Regions from separate parts of the Homo sapiens genome. Here all the other regions are linked to region 1. Evidence: promoter capture Hi-C in 16 types of primary human blood cells and fetal thymus (Javierre and others, 2016). All regions are on one chromosome and are shown on one strand. Each heading gives the region's core, a stretch centred on a gene start or on the middle of the fragment in contact. The rest is flanking DNA. Distances are from core to core; before and after follow the strand shown. Region 1 holds the start of DPT (dermatopontin). Region 2 overlaps NME7 (NME/NM23 family member 7). Region 3 overlaps LINC00970 (long intergenic non-protein coding RNA 970).

Region 1 (4,868 bases), core at 1,621-4,120:
ATGACAAACCAGTCACAGTTGGCAAGTTTAAAACTAAACATCATTTGGCTTCTCTCTCTAGCAGGGATGAACACAAAGATCAACAGAATGCAAGAAAAAGCCAAGAGTGTTTTCAGGGGTGAGCCACAGCTCTGTGGAGCCTTCAGAGATCATGCAGCCTGACTGCTCACTTTCCAAATGAGGCGGGAGACTGGAGGGCTGAGCGTCTGGGCCAAGGTCACACCACAAGTCATTAGAACCAGGATCCAGACCCAGGCCTCCTGATTCAGAGCCTAGGGCTCTTCCTCTATGGCTTGGGGAACCATGGCTGAGTGCTGCTTGACTGTGGCACAAAAAACGGCTGTTAGAAAGGAGTCGCACCCATGCGATAGTGCTCCTGAGAGGTGAGGACTGGAGGGACAGTTGTAATTAGGTCATTGCCATGCTCCACATTAGGCAGTGGGCCTGGCTGTGAGGAGTCATGGAGACAACAATCAAGGTGAGCCTGGTCTCTGAATCAGCATCTGTCAGAAGGGGTTTTGAATAACTAAATCTGCTCACCAGAGGCCATGGGGGTGGATGAGAATGGCCCACAAAGGCTGTCCAAGCAGCCTCCACAGCCCCGGCACCCTCACCTGCTGCTGCCTGTGTGAGTCCTCTCCCCACCCCTTCTACAGTCCGGCTGAGCCCCTCCACAGTCCTGGTAACCAAGTAGGGATCATCCCTCTGGGGCTGGGCTTCTGCTGTGGTCTTGCAGGTCCCCACCCTCTCCAGGAGGAAGAACTGCCCTGAATCTGGTCCTGTGGCACTGGCTCTGCTGACAGAGTCAGCTGTCGGGTGGGAGCCCACTCTGGGTGGAGGCAGCAGCCTCTCAGGAGCCCGTCACTGTGGCAAAGTACAAACTCTTTGAAGCAAAGACTCTGTGGATCCAAACCCCAGCTTTCTAGCCGAGGAAATACTGGATCTCTAGACTGCAGTTTGTCTACCTATAAATGGGATATACCCTTGTTTTGAGCATTACACGAGATGATCCACATAAAGCACTTAGCATGGAGCCTGCTCAGGGTAAGCACTCAATAAATGGTAGCTGTTGTCATTACTTAAAGGCCCGCTCTCTTTCCTGGCTCCCCCACCCATCGGTGTTTCTTCCTCTTGGATTTCCCATCATCACCTCTCTACTGGTTGTGTCCCCCAGGGTTCTATGCTTTTTCTTTTTTCTATTTTCTTTTTTTTTTTTTTTTGAGGCAGAGTCTTGCTCTGCCACCCAGGAGGGAATACAGTGGTGCGAGCATGGCTCACTGCAGCCTCGACTCCCTGGGCTCAAGTGATCCTCCTACCTTAGCCTCCTGAGTAGCTGGGACCACAGGCTGCATGCAACTACACCGGGCTAATTTTTTTTTTTCTGTAGAGATAGGGTCTGGCTGTGTTCCCTAGGCTGGTCTCGAACTCTTGATCTCAAGTGATCCTCCCTCCCCAGCCTCCCAAAGTGTTTGGGATTACAGGCGTGAGCCACCACACCTGGCCAGATTTTGTGCTTGACCCCTCCAATCCCCACTACACTAAGTACTTGTTGCCACACATCTGGGTTGCTCTACAGATAGCACATGCAGCAGCCCTCCAGGTGGGCTTCCTCCTCCCTGGACTGCCTCCTCCGTTCTCTCCTCCAAGCCTCCTAGAGTGCTGGCTCCATCTAGGCTGTTGTAAATAATCAGCCTAGCAGTCAGTGCCTACTAGGATGAGCTCCTGACCAAGCACCTGGGCTGAGACCCAGCTGAGACAATCACACCCCACAAAAAAGTACAAGCTCGAAAAAATTCCATGCCACTGCTTAAGGCAGAATGCAGTCAGGGGAAGACAGCACCTCTCTCCAAAACCCTTTAGTAAACTATTTTCCAGCAATAAAACCCACTTTAAATTCAGGCAGAGAGAAGGACCTCAGTACTCATAATTGAGAGAGCACATTTAATCAAGGCAGTAGACAGCTATTTAATTCCACTTTCTTTTGCCTAAATGTCCTTGTCCCCTCTTTTCCATTCACTTGCTCTAAATCAATAGTTCTCAAACCCTCCGTGCTGAGAGATCAATTGTTTATTTTTCTTGTTCCCAAACTACTGTGGGCCAGTACTTTTGTAAAATGGTAAAAATAAATTTCTAAAAAAGAAAAATGCCATTCCGATGGCACAGAAAGTTTTAATTTCTATAAAGTTTATTACTTTCAGTTTCTGTACATATCTTTTGGTAGTCTGGTAAGCAAGCTTCTCGCCGACCTACACCAGCCCCTGGCCCAAACTGAGAGTAGGTAGAACAGCTTCTGGAAGGAACAGAGCCACAGAGGAGTCTGTCTCCCACAGACACTCCCCATCCCAGGTTTTTGTCCTGTCATGTAGTCCGCTCAGCAGCAGCCCTGCTCCACCCAGAGCATGCAGTGGTGAGGTTTGGGGTGGGATTTGCCCAGGCTTTGGTTACTGATATTCCTTGAGAGTCTAGCAGCCCCCAGGAGGAGGGATATGCAGAGATGTTCCCAGCCCCAGTGCAGTGCAGGGACTGGCCCTTACCATTCCATGCCAGCCCTGTTGATCTCCTCCCACCAGCACTCCGTGGGTTCCCCGAGGCTCTGTGGCGTGGGCATGCAGGCGTAGTTCCATTGTCTGTCAGAACCTTCCTTCTTGCTGAAGATGCTCCTCACGGCCACTATCACCTGCCCCTGGGGACACTGGTAGCTGAAGCCTTGCCGGTTCAAATTCACCCACCCATCATCGCTGTAGTCATGATACTGCTGGTATGGGTATCCATAATCGCCATACTGGCCCCAGGCCATGGTGACTAGGGGCAGAAGTACCCAGAGAAGACTGAGGTCCATGCTGCCTGGGATTTTGGCAAACAATGTCACTCTAAGATTGCTGGTCTGACCGTTTTATATAGCTGCCGCTGACATGTGGCTTCCAGATGTGGGTGAGAAGGATCCAACTGCAGTGTGTCATTGCTTAAGCAAAACTTTTCCATGCTGAGATGTCAGCCATAAGGACATTCAGCTTGTTTTAAGGTGGAATTCTAGGAATATACCAGCAGCATGTAAGTCTAAGAAGCTCCCTGGAGAAAGAACAACTTTGTATCTAGATTATAAAAGCCAACTGCTGCTCTACCCTGTAGAAATATTCACTTGAAAAACACTGATTAGTAGCATATTTGTCCCTCACCTTTCAGCACCTCACCCCTTTCTGTCCTACCCTACCCGCTACTAGCAAACCCCTGTATTTGTTCTCCAAACTAGCCTTCCGGGCCACACAAATACCCAGACAGTGATTTCAAAATACCGAAATCATAGACTGAAGTAACAGAGCCATCTAGGATTTCTGTAAGGCTGAATGCCTGTTTTTTTTTTTAAGTTGTCAATCCAACACTTTTTAACCCTTGAGTATAAGCGCGGGTATACCAGTTTGCAGGGCTACTCTGAGAACTCATAAGTTGCATAAGGAAGTACTATGGGCCCATGGGGAGATAAGTTGGATATGATTTCTACACTTAAGCATTCTACCATGCTGCTGAAATTGGACCCAGTCAAGTCTAGAAAGTGTGCTCTGCTCTCAAAATGTAATGGGTTTAATCTAAATAAACCCCCTATTTATCCTTCAGTATTTTTGCCCTCACATTGAATTTTCTTTTCATTGAGTTATAATTTACATATAATTAATTCACCTTTTAAAATACATAATGTACAGTAACATAGCCAGCACCCTAATCAAGACTTAGAACAGTTCCATCAATCCAAAACATCCCCTTATATCCCTTTGCAGTCAAATCTTCCCAAACACCCAGCCATTGGTAACCACTGATTTACTTTCTGTCTCTATGGTTTTGCCTTTTCCAGAATGTCAAGTAAATGGAATCATACCACACGTAGCCTTTCATGTCCATCTTTCACTTAGCATAATGCTTTTAAGGTTCATCCATTTTAAAATTCAACATCTCATTGTATGTGTTAGTATTTTGTTTCTTGTTATTGTTGAGTAATATTCCATAGCATGGATGTACCACAGATTGTTTATACATTTACTAGTTGAAAGACATTTGGGTTGTTTCCAGTTTTTGAAAATTCATTACTTTTTATGTAATGAATTTTATATTCATTATATTTTATATAATGAATTACATAAATGTAATTATAAAGTTGATATAAACATCTATGTATAGGTTTTTGTGTGAACAAATTTTTATTTCATTTGGGTCAATACCTAGGAGTGAGATTGCTGGTTCACAAGGTAATGTATGTTTAACTTTAAAAGAAACTACTGAGGCCGGGTGTGGTGGCTCATGCTTGTAATCCCAGCACTTTAGGAGGCCGAGGCGGGCGGATCACGAGGTCAGGAGATCGAGACCATCCTGGCTAACATGGTGAAACCCCGCCTCTACTAAAAATACAAAAAATTAGCCAGGCTTAGTGGCGGGCGCCTGTAGTCCCAGCTACTCGGGAGGCTGAGACAGGAGAATGGCGTGAACCCGAGAAGCGGAGCTTGCAGTGAGCCGAGATTGTGCCACTGCACTCCAGCCTGGGCTACAGAGCGAGACTCCGTCTCAAAAAAACAAAAAAAAGAAAGCAAGAAACTACCTAGCTGATTTCCAAAGTGGTGATACCATTGCCCACCACTACCAGAAAATTGCCATTAAAAAATTTTAGCTATTCAAATAGGTTTGTAGTGATATTTCAGTGTGGTTGTGATTTTCATTTCTCTAATGATCCATGATTTTGAGCATCTTTTCATGTGCTCATTACCCATTCCATGCATCCGTTGATGATTTGGCTTTTCAAATTTTTTGAAACCTTTGGGCATCTCTTAAGCACATAGTATTTCCCATTTCTCATCAGTATTGTTCTTAAAGTTTCTTAGAAT
Region 2 (4,868 bases), core at 1,533-4,032, 480 kb after region 1:
TGTTCACTCTAGGGTGAAGATTTAACATTTGAATGTATTACAATTAGGCCTTATAAATCAAAAGGTAAAGCAGAGGACATAAAAGCCCTCTGTGCTCAGTCTCCGTAGAATGGCCAGAACCATTCTGTGGTTGGTGGTCTCTAATCAGGAAGGAATGCTGGTGGGTTGCCCTGTCAAAACTACAGAAGGGAGGGCAGCAATGGTTTATATGGTTGATATCAGCAGTGGAGCAAGTTTTTCAAAATGGCTAGTTTCTCTTTAACCCTTAGGGAAGGCTAATGATGGTTAGCAAAGGAGTAGGTATAATGAGATGTGTCTGATCCCGCATCCCCTCATGGCTGGGAACTCGTTTATTTTCGTGTTTTGTTTTTGAGACAGGGTCTTGCTCTGTCAACCAGGCTGGAGTGCAGTAGTTTGATCAAAGCTCAGTGCAGCCTTGACCTCCTGGACTCAAGTGATCTTCCTTCCTCAGTCTCCCAAGTAGCTGGGACTACAGGTATGCACCACCATGCCTGGTTAATTTTTCAGTTTTTGAAAAGACAAGATCTCACAATGTTGCCCAGTTTTGTCTTGAACTCCTGGCTTCAAGCAGTCCTCCCACCTTAGCATCCCAAAGTGCTGGGATTGCAGGAGTGAGTCACCACACCAGGCCAGGGAATTTAGCTTTTAAGGTTTCTCTGGGGTCCCCTTGTCCAAGTGAGGGATCTGTTCAGTCAGTAGGGAGCTTGGGATTTTATTTTTATTTCTCAAATGCCTCAGTACTGGCTGCCTCTCCTCCTAAACTTTCACTCAATCCATACTAGATATTGTCACATAACTCTTACTTTGATCACATGACAGTGCTACTTTGTCAGTAACCTTCAATGGTTTTTCATGTTTATTAAGTAACAAAATTCCCAGCCTTGGACTCATTATGATGCTAATATCTCTCTAGCTTTATTGTCTACTATTATACTATATCCAATGCTTCAAACTAAATTACTCAGCCTTGCAATCTCAATGCCTATGTGACATAATCTCTCATTTTAAAAGTACAGATTCCCATTTCAGATTATAGAAATTCTAAGTATTCCACAGGGTTCACCTTCTTTCAGATGTCGCACTCTCTCGGAAACCTTACGCACTTACTCCAGAGATGTAAGCACTTTCCTTGAAAATCTTATTCACAACCTGTATCTCTCTTAAAGCATTTATCTTACTGTCAGATTTATTTTGCCATTGTCTGTAAACTTATCTTTTCTTACAACAGTTTGCAAGCAAAATCTAGTAATGCCTTGACTACCACTACATTTCAATAAATAATTATTGACTCAATTTTATTCAATTTTGAACTCTTATCAAAGCTCTCAAATTTGCTATCTGTGTTCTTTGGGCAAGCTTAGTATCTTTACAGATGGTGTAATTCCATTGGAAGTTTCTTTTCTTTCTTGAAGGTCATAAAACAAGGATGGCCCAACATCTCATACTGAAAACAGTTTTCCATCTAATTTTTTGATCAACTATAAGATTATTCTATAAGACCAAAGCAGGAAGCCTATAAATATATATTTACTATTGTCACACTAATAATTAGTCTAGCAAAATAGTATGCTTATGTTATTGTTCTTTAGGATAAACTGACAATGTAATGTTGCAGTTTACTTAAAAAACAATACTTACTATTATAACCACACTTTTAGTTTTTTCATTTACTAATTCACTACTTTCTATAATCAGAGTCAGTGTCAATTGTTTTCCCATGATCTTATGTAATTTGAGCTTTAGCACCATCATCACATATATGTATGAAAAGAATAAGGTTCCAGATCTAAAGGCAACATCTGGTGCTTCCTTTCCTCAATTACTCTCCTAAAATCAAGACATAGGAACAAGGTTGCCCAAAACTCATTCAAGTCTTCCCATCTTGCCCATTATGTGTCAAATAGTTGTGTGGTACCCTCACAGCATGTATCCTAGGCTCTGAGAAAAGTAAGAAAAATCCATATTTATGGAATATTCTAAGAAGTTTGCCCATATTAGCTGATATAATCCTCACAACCGGCTTATTCTTTTTCCGTTTTATTGGTGAAGAAACAGATTATATTTTACAGATGAAGAATCTCAGGCGGCCTGGCTCTAGAGCCCACTGCAAAGCACCACATGTCAAGTACTGGCATTCATTATTCATTCTTCCTGCTTCTGCTCCGGCCCCACTTTGTCTATTCACCACATGGAAGCCAGCATTATTGTGTTAAAACATGTTAGGTTATGTTGGTCCTCTGCTCAAACTCTGCAATGGTCCCCTTCTTACTCAGAGTAAAAGCTAAAGTATTTTCAGCAGCTTTCCACGCTCTATGTGATCTTCTTTCCCATCCTGTATCTCTTTGACCTCACCTCACACATTCACTCCACTCTGGCCACACTGTCCTCCTGACTTCTTCCAATATACTAAGCATACTCCAGCTTTGGCACTTGCTGTTCCTCCAGCCTGGATTGCTAGGTGACTGTCACCCTCATCTCCTTCAAGTCTGTATCCAATGTTAACTTTTAAATGCAGCCTTCTCTGTCCATTCTACTTAAAAACTATAAATCCCTCCCTTTTCTGGAAAACCCTATTTCCCTCCCCTGCTTTATTTTCCCCTACACACTTACCATCATATTATATATTTTACTTATTTATTCCGCTCCTGATCTGTTTCCCCCCAACTAGAACGTCCTCTGTGAAGATAGATTTTATTGTTTGTTCTTTTGCCACTGTATTTCTACTGTATCTAGAATAGTACTTAGTATGTAGTAAGTCCCCAGAAAATATTTGATGAATTAACTAATTAATTAATTCAAATATCTATATGGAAGTTGGAGCTGATGTTGAGAGACTGAAAAAGAATGGATGGCTACAAGTCTTACAAGGAGGAATACCTCAGAGGCCTGGAACACGGAGGGTAGGGAGGATTAATACTAGGACAAGGAATAAAAAGGAAGAAGCTGTCTTGGGTTAATGCTTGGTCTTCAACTCCAGGGATTCTTATTTGACCTTTGTGTATCTTCCTTTAGGACTAGGGTTCATAATTTTGTCTTATGCAAAGACAAAGTTAAGAACCTCTTTTGGCAGCCTGATGGAGCCTATGAACCCTTCTCAAAGCAATGTTTTTAAATGCATAAAATACATAGAATTGCAGGAAATTAATTACTCTAAAATAAAATTATCAGAATATTTTATATTTTGTGATATAATGTACATATTTATTAAAATGTAGCAGCTGATTTAATAACTCTTATAATTTTAAAATAGCAATGACTGTAAATGATGTTTTAAGATATGTACAATTGTAATGCAATGTGAAAATGTTTGCAATTTCTGGTGGTTGCTAAGTTAACTACTATATTAACACATAGCTATAACAGTGATTAGTTGTTTATATTTATGGAATTCTAATATTCAGTCAGATATTAGTGAAAATAAACACGATTCTTTTTTTCTCATCCAAGTTCACAGACCCCTTGTCTTAGTCCGTTTGCATTGCTATAAAGAAACATCTGAGGATAGGTAATTTATAAGGAAAAGAGGTTTATTTGGCTCATGGTTCTGCAGGCTATACCAGAAGCATGGTACCAGCATCTGCTTCTGATGAGGGCCTCAGGCTGTTTCTACTCATGGTGGAAGGTGAAGGGGAAGTGGCATGCAGAGATCACAGGGTAAGGGTGGAAGCAAGAGGAAGAAGGGAACGATGCCAGGCTCTTTTTAACAAACAGTTCTCAAGGAAACTAACACAGTGAGAACTCAGTCATTACCCTGAGGATGCCACCAAGCCATTCATGAGGGATCTGCCCCCAGGACCCAAATGCCTCCCACTAGGCCCTACCTCCAATGCTGAGAATCACATTTCAATATGAGATTTGGGGGAGTCAAGCAAACCAAACTAGAGCACCCCTGAATTCTATTCCCAAAAGCCATAGGGGTCTGTAGACATCAGGATAAGAACCTTGCTCTAGGATTAGTCTCAGGGTACACCCAAGGGGGAAGAGGATCAAAATTAACTACACCTTCACTATCACAGAAGCAGAAGGAAAAAAAGAGACAACAAAGAAAAACAAAACAAAATGATTTTTTTCCAAATTCCTTTAACTAAAGGCAATCTTTTTCACCTTATAACTAGAAAATAGTCTGAAAAATGCAAGTATTTATGAGTTTTGGTGTATCAGTATGAATAAGCTTTAATAACAGGACAATGTTACTTTCTAACATTGATGAGAAATTCAAAAGCAGGAAAGCATAGAAGCCTCCAAATCAGTGCAAAGATCTGATGCGGTGGGGAAGGGAGGGTGCTGGAGTGAGTAGTCTGGAAATAAAGAAAACAAAATAATGAAGGCTAGATTTATGGAGTCCTGTTTATCTTTTTTCTCTTCCCTAAAAAGTAAAAGCTATGTTTCAAAGTTCTTTATGTTCTCTTCAAGGTCCCTGAAAGCAGCTTAGCAAGAATTATGGTCAGGAATTTCTCCTTATCCTGGTTGTCATCTGTAACTTTTGGCAACAAAATTGGAAAATACTTCATACCAGATGCCCTCTTTTGGAGATTCACAATGCATGTCAGCATTTGACATGTTCTAGAGTCCTTTAGTACACAAATCTGCTTAACTTCATTTAAACCAGTATTTCTCAATCTTATTTGATCGTAAATTTTTTTCCATTTAATATATGTCTATTATTGCAATTATAAGACTTTATTGCAATTATTGACAATACAATTCTTTTCTTCAACTAGGACATAAATTCCTCTGGCTCAGCAAAGGTGTCTTGTTCATGTTTTCATTGCTAGTACTAAGAACTATTAATACTTCATATGCACTTTGAAAGTCTGTAAATGTTTGGTTGGTTAGTGGTTGGTGGG
Region 3 (4,868 bases), core at 739-3,238, 310 kb after region 1:
TAGAATACCATAGACTGGGTGGCTTCTAAACGACATCAATTTATTTCTCACAGTTCTGGAGCCTGGGAAGTTCAAGATCAAGACTCCAGCAGTTTCTGTGTCTGGTGAGGGCTTGCTTCTTCATTCATAGATGGCACCTTCTCATTGTGTCCTCACATGGGAGAAGGGGAAAGGGATCTAGCTGGGGTCTCTTTTATAAGAGCACTAATCCCATGAGGGTGAGGGCTCTACCCTCATCATCTAATCACCTCTCAAAGGCCCTGCCTCTGAATACCATCACATTGGGGATTAAATTTTAGCATATGAATTTTAGAGGGGACACAAGCATTCAGTCTATAGCAGGCACACATACATTTATTAAGTGTCTCACTAACTATATACTTAACCTAACACATGTAAACCAAATAAATTCTACATAAATATTTATGATACCCAATGTTGGTGAGGGTGTGCAGAAAGTCACACTCACATAATTAGTAATAGCTATCAAAAACATGTAATGTGTATGCCTTTTAACCAAGCAGCTTTAGTAGTAGGAATTAACCCATCTATTGAGACAAATGTGCCAAGAGAAAAGTATCATGATATTCACTACCACATTGTTTTCAACATCAAAATATAATACAAACATAAAAATCTAGCATGTAACCAGAAAAATTATGCTGAGATACAGTATAGCCCATAAGGAATGAGGTAGATAAATAGGAAAAGGTATTCAAGTGTCAGTTCTAACATCAAAGAACAAAAAAATCATAGGCAAAGAGGCAACCAAGGGTGGCTTCTGAGAGAAATGAAACTAGATTTGAGTCTGAAATGAAAAATCAAACTATTTTGGCCAGGCTGAGGAGAAGAGGAAGGCCCTCTATGATGGAGCAGCCATCAACCATTGACCAAGAAATGATGTTGCGCAGTGGAAAGACCACTGGTTGTGGATTCTGAACATGAACCCCTGGCTCTAGAGTGACCTAAGGCAGAGCCTCCCAGCCCTTTTATGCGGAAGTACCCAGATTGGCAGTGAAGAGAGCTGCATTCCCCATGAAAACAAAAAGTGGCCTAATGGGAGTGAGGTTTATTTTAAAGTCTCAAATTTCCCTACCTCTGACTTTGGCTAATGGACACTATGTTGTTTCATTGAGACTGACAAATTAGGAATGTTGAAATGAATTAAAGAGATGCGGTACAGCATATCAGGTTCAATTTCTTTTTTTGTTTCTCAGAGACCTGGTTTTTCAAGGACCTGGGCTCACATAATTATGTGGGCATAAATAGTGGAAAGTAGAAACTAAGAATCCAGAGCTATTTTAGCAGATAGTTTAACCTGTTTGTCAAAGTCAATGATTTTTCTTTATTTTTACTTCTTTACATATTTTTTTGTGAGGTAACTAATTTTTCAAAAAGTAAACTGTGGCCATAGGCCTGTGGGTACTCCTCAGGAAGGACCACCGCTTCTCTGATTTATCTGATCTATGTTGGGATTCTGTGTATAATATTATTTGAAAAAAAATCCATGGCTTAATAGAAAAAGATTTAAAATCACAGCTTGAGAAGCTAGCTAGTAAACTACAGGCAAGCTTCTATACCTTAAATAGTAGTATCCACATTCATTTGAACATCTAAGTTTCCGAAGGAGCTTTTCCTCCCAAAATTAACTGCTACTGACAAAAACACAAAATACACATTTGCCACTAATGAATAAATTATGTCACATTTATTAGTAAATAATTTTCTAAGTGAATATTGGCACTGAACTCTGGTTCCAAAAATGGCAGCAAAGAAGCAAGCTGGCTTTACTCATCCCCACAGAAAACCAAAAACAAATATACAGCACTAAGAGTATCACTAGAAATATCCCCGAACTCAAATATGAAGAAGAGACAGTTCCCAGGGCCACAGAGAAGTGGAAAAAACTCTGAGCAGACAGTAAGAGAATCAGACTTCCACATTCATGATGCCATTCCTCCCATTCTATTCCCAATTCTACCATCAAGCACACAGAAAATTCTCTACCAACTCACTGTTTCTACACTGTAAAAAAGTGAGATCAAGGTGAATAACCAGCCTCCTCACCGTCTTGGGTTCCCTGGCAGGAGACCCGTACCTGCTTTAACCCACGGGAAGCATTGCTAGTGCCTGAAGGAATAAATATCCCTGAGGACAATCAGAGGCAGAGACAATGGGGGAAGGTGGAACTATCATCCCCAGCCCCGGAAACTCTACTGTGTAACTCAGCCAAAGGAAAAGCCAAATCAGAGTGACTGTTCAGCAGCACAGTGCTGTAGAAGATTCATCTTATAGGTCTCCTGGGCACTAACCCCTAGCCAGTCTTGCCACAATGCTGGGATATCCCCATTTGGATTGTCCCAATTCGGGAAGAATAGTGCTCTAATCATTTACTTGAGCCAAGATAAGCTTGGAGTTAAGACATCAACTAGAGCTGAAATCTGACCTAATGGTAAAGATTTGCTAAGCAAAATATGCAATAAAAACCAATACAGCCCAGACAGAGAAAACTGGAATAAGTAACTAAACCTTTCAATGCAAACACAAAGATGTATACCCATAAGGAACAACAACAAACAGGGCACCATGACATCCTCTAAAGGAAAAAACAAAAATTCAATGGCTAACCCTAATGAGATGGCAATTTGTGAGCTCTCTGAACAAGAATTCAAAGTAGCAGGTCTAAGGAAACTCAATGATCTCCAAGAAAATGCAGAAAAGCAATTCAGAAATTTATCAGAGAAATTTAACTAAGAGATTGAAATAATAAAAAGTCAAACAGATATCTTGGAACTGAGAAATACATTTATAGAAATAAAGAACTCATTAGAGGCTCTCAACAGAAAAGCAGACCAAGCAGAGGAAAAAATCAGTAAACTTAAAGACCACCTATTTGAAAATACACAATCAGAGGAGAAAAAAGAAAAAAGAATGAAGACTACCTATAAGATATAGAAAATCTCCTCAAAAAATCAAATCTAAGAATTATTGGTGTTCAAGAAGGAACTAAGCAAGAGCAAGGACTAGAACATTTATTTAAAAAAAGAATAACAAAAAACTTCCCCCAAACTTTAGAAAGATACAAATATCCAGGCACAAGAAGGTCTGAGAATACAGATTCAAACCAAATAAGACTACCCCAAGGCATATAATAATTAAACTCTCAAAGGTCAAAGACAAAGAGGATTCTAAAAGCAGCAAGAAAAAAGAAGCAAGTTACATACAAGGAGCTCCAGTTTTTCCAGCAACAGACTTCTCACCAGAAACCATACAGGCTAGTAGGGAGTGAAACAACATTTTCAAAATGCTGAAATAAAAGAACTGCTTTACGATAATACTGTACTCAGCAAAGTTATCCTTCAAATATGAAAGGAGAGAAAGTCTTTCCCAGACAAATAAAAGCTAAGAAAATTCACTACCACCAGACTCATAGTAAAAGAAATGCTAAAAGGAGTTCTTCACTTTTCAAGCTATAAAACCCACAGGTAAAATTAAGTACATGGACAAACTCATAATACTCTGTTACTGTAATTATGGTGTACAATCCACTCATAACTCTAGTGTTAAGCCCAAAAGACAAATCTACCAGAACAATAATTGCTACAACTCATTAACAAATAAGTAATATAAAAATATGTAAATTGAGACAACCAAAAGTCAAAATATGGGAGGATGGAGTTAAAGTGTAGAATTTTTGTGTGCTTGTCTTGCCTTTGTTTGTTTCTATTCTTGTATTTGTGATCTAATAAGTTGATACGTCTTTAAAATAACTTGTTATATCTATAACATGTTTATGTAAACCTCATGGTAATCACAACGCAAAAACCTATAATAGATTCACTAAAAATAAAAAGCAATGAATTAAAACATGCTACCAGAGAAAATCATTTAACCACAAAGGAAGACAGTAAGAAAGGAAGAGAGGACTTACAAGACAATCAGAAAACAAGAAACAAAATGGCAGTAGTAAGTCCTTACTTATCAATAATGACACTGAATGTAAATGGACTCAATTCTCCAATTAAAAGGCACAGAATGGCTGAATGGATGAAGAAACAAGACCTAACTATATGCTGCCCTACAAGAGATCCATTTCACTCATAAAGGCACACATAGACTAAAAGTGAAAGGGTGGAAAATATTATATGCAATTGGAAACCAAAAAAATAAAGCAGGAGTAGGAATACTTACATCAGATAAAATATACTACAAATCAAAAACTGTAAAAAGAGTCAAAGAAGGTCATTGTATAATGATAAAGGGATCAATTCAGCAAGTGGATAAAACAATTAAAATATCTGTGCACCTAGCACCAGAACTCCCAAGTATATAAAGCAAGCATTGATAAATTTAAAGGGAGAAATAGATTGCAAGACCATAATAGTAGATGACTTTGACAGCCCACTCTCAGTAATGGCCATATCATCCAGACAGAAAATCAACAAACACTCGATTTAAACTACACACTAGATCTAATCAGCCTAACCGACATTTATAGATCATTTAACTCAACTGTTGAAGAATACACATTCTTTTCATTAGCACATGGAACATTCTCCAGAATAGACCATATCTTAGGCCACAAAACAAGTCTGAACAAATTTTTTAAAAAGTAGAAATCATATCAAGTATCTTTTCTGACCACAATGGAATAAAACAAAAAAATCAATAACAAGAAGAACCTTAGAAACTTCATAAACACATGGAAATTTACCAACATGCTCTTGAATGACCAATGGGTCAATGAAGGAATTAAGAAGAATTTTTTTTAATTCTTAAATGAAAACAGAAATATAACATAACAAAATCTATGAGATACAGCAAAACAGTACTGAGAGAGGAGTTTATGGCAATAAATGCTTTTATCA

The links. The method cuts DNA at HindIII sites, captures the fragments that hold promoters and counts their contacts. A CHiCAGO score of 5 or more calls a contact.
Region 2: a contact is called between a fragment that was not itself captured here and the fragment with the promoter of DPT in region 1, in 1 of 17 cell types (M1 macrophages). The highest score is 5.0, in M1 macrophages.
Region 3: a fragment that was not itself captured here is called in contact with the fragment with the promoter of DPT in region 1 in 1 of 17 cell types (M2 macrophages); the score reaches 5.4 in M2 macrophages.

The regions. Positions count from the first base shown.
Region 1 is chr1:168,726,336-168,731,203 of GRCh38, forward strand. DPT (dermatopontin) reads right to left here and starts at 2,871. Exons shown (of 4, transcript NM_001937.5): 1 at 2,535-2,871. The coding sequence starts at 2,839. The HindIII fragment of the contact is 3,243 bases long and covers 2,233-4,868 here.
Region 2 is chr1:169,203,504-169,208,371 of GRCh38, forward strand. All of the region lies in intron 10 of NME7 (NME/NM23 family member 7), which reads right to left. Among named protein-coding and RNA genes, the nearest start is that of ATP1B1, 99 kb to the left of the region's middle. The HindIII fragment of the contact is 2,815 bases long and covers 1,376-4,190 here.
Region 3 is chr1:169,034,210-169,039,077 of GRCh38, forward strand. All of the region lies in intron 3 of LINC00970 (long intergenic non-protein coding RNA 970), which reads right to left. Among named protein-coding and RNA genes, the nearest start is that of LINC00970, 50 kb to the right of the region's middle. The HindIII fragment of the contact is 838 bases long and covers 1,570-2,407 here.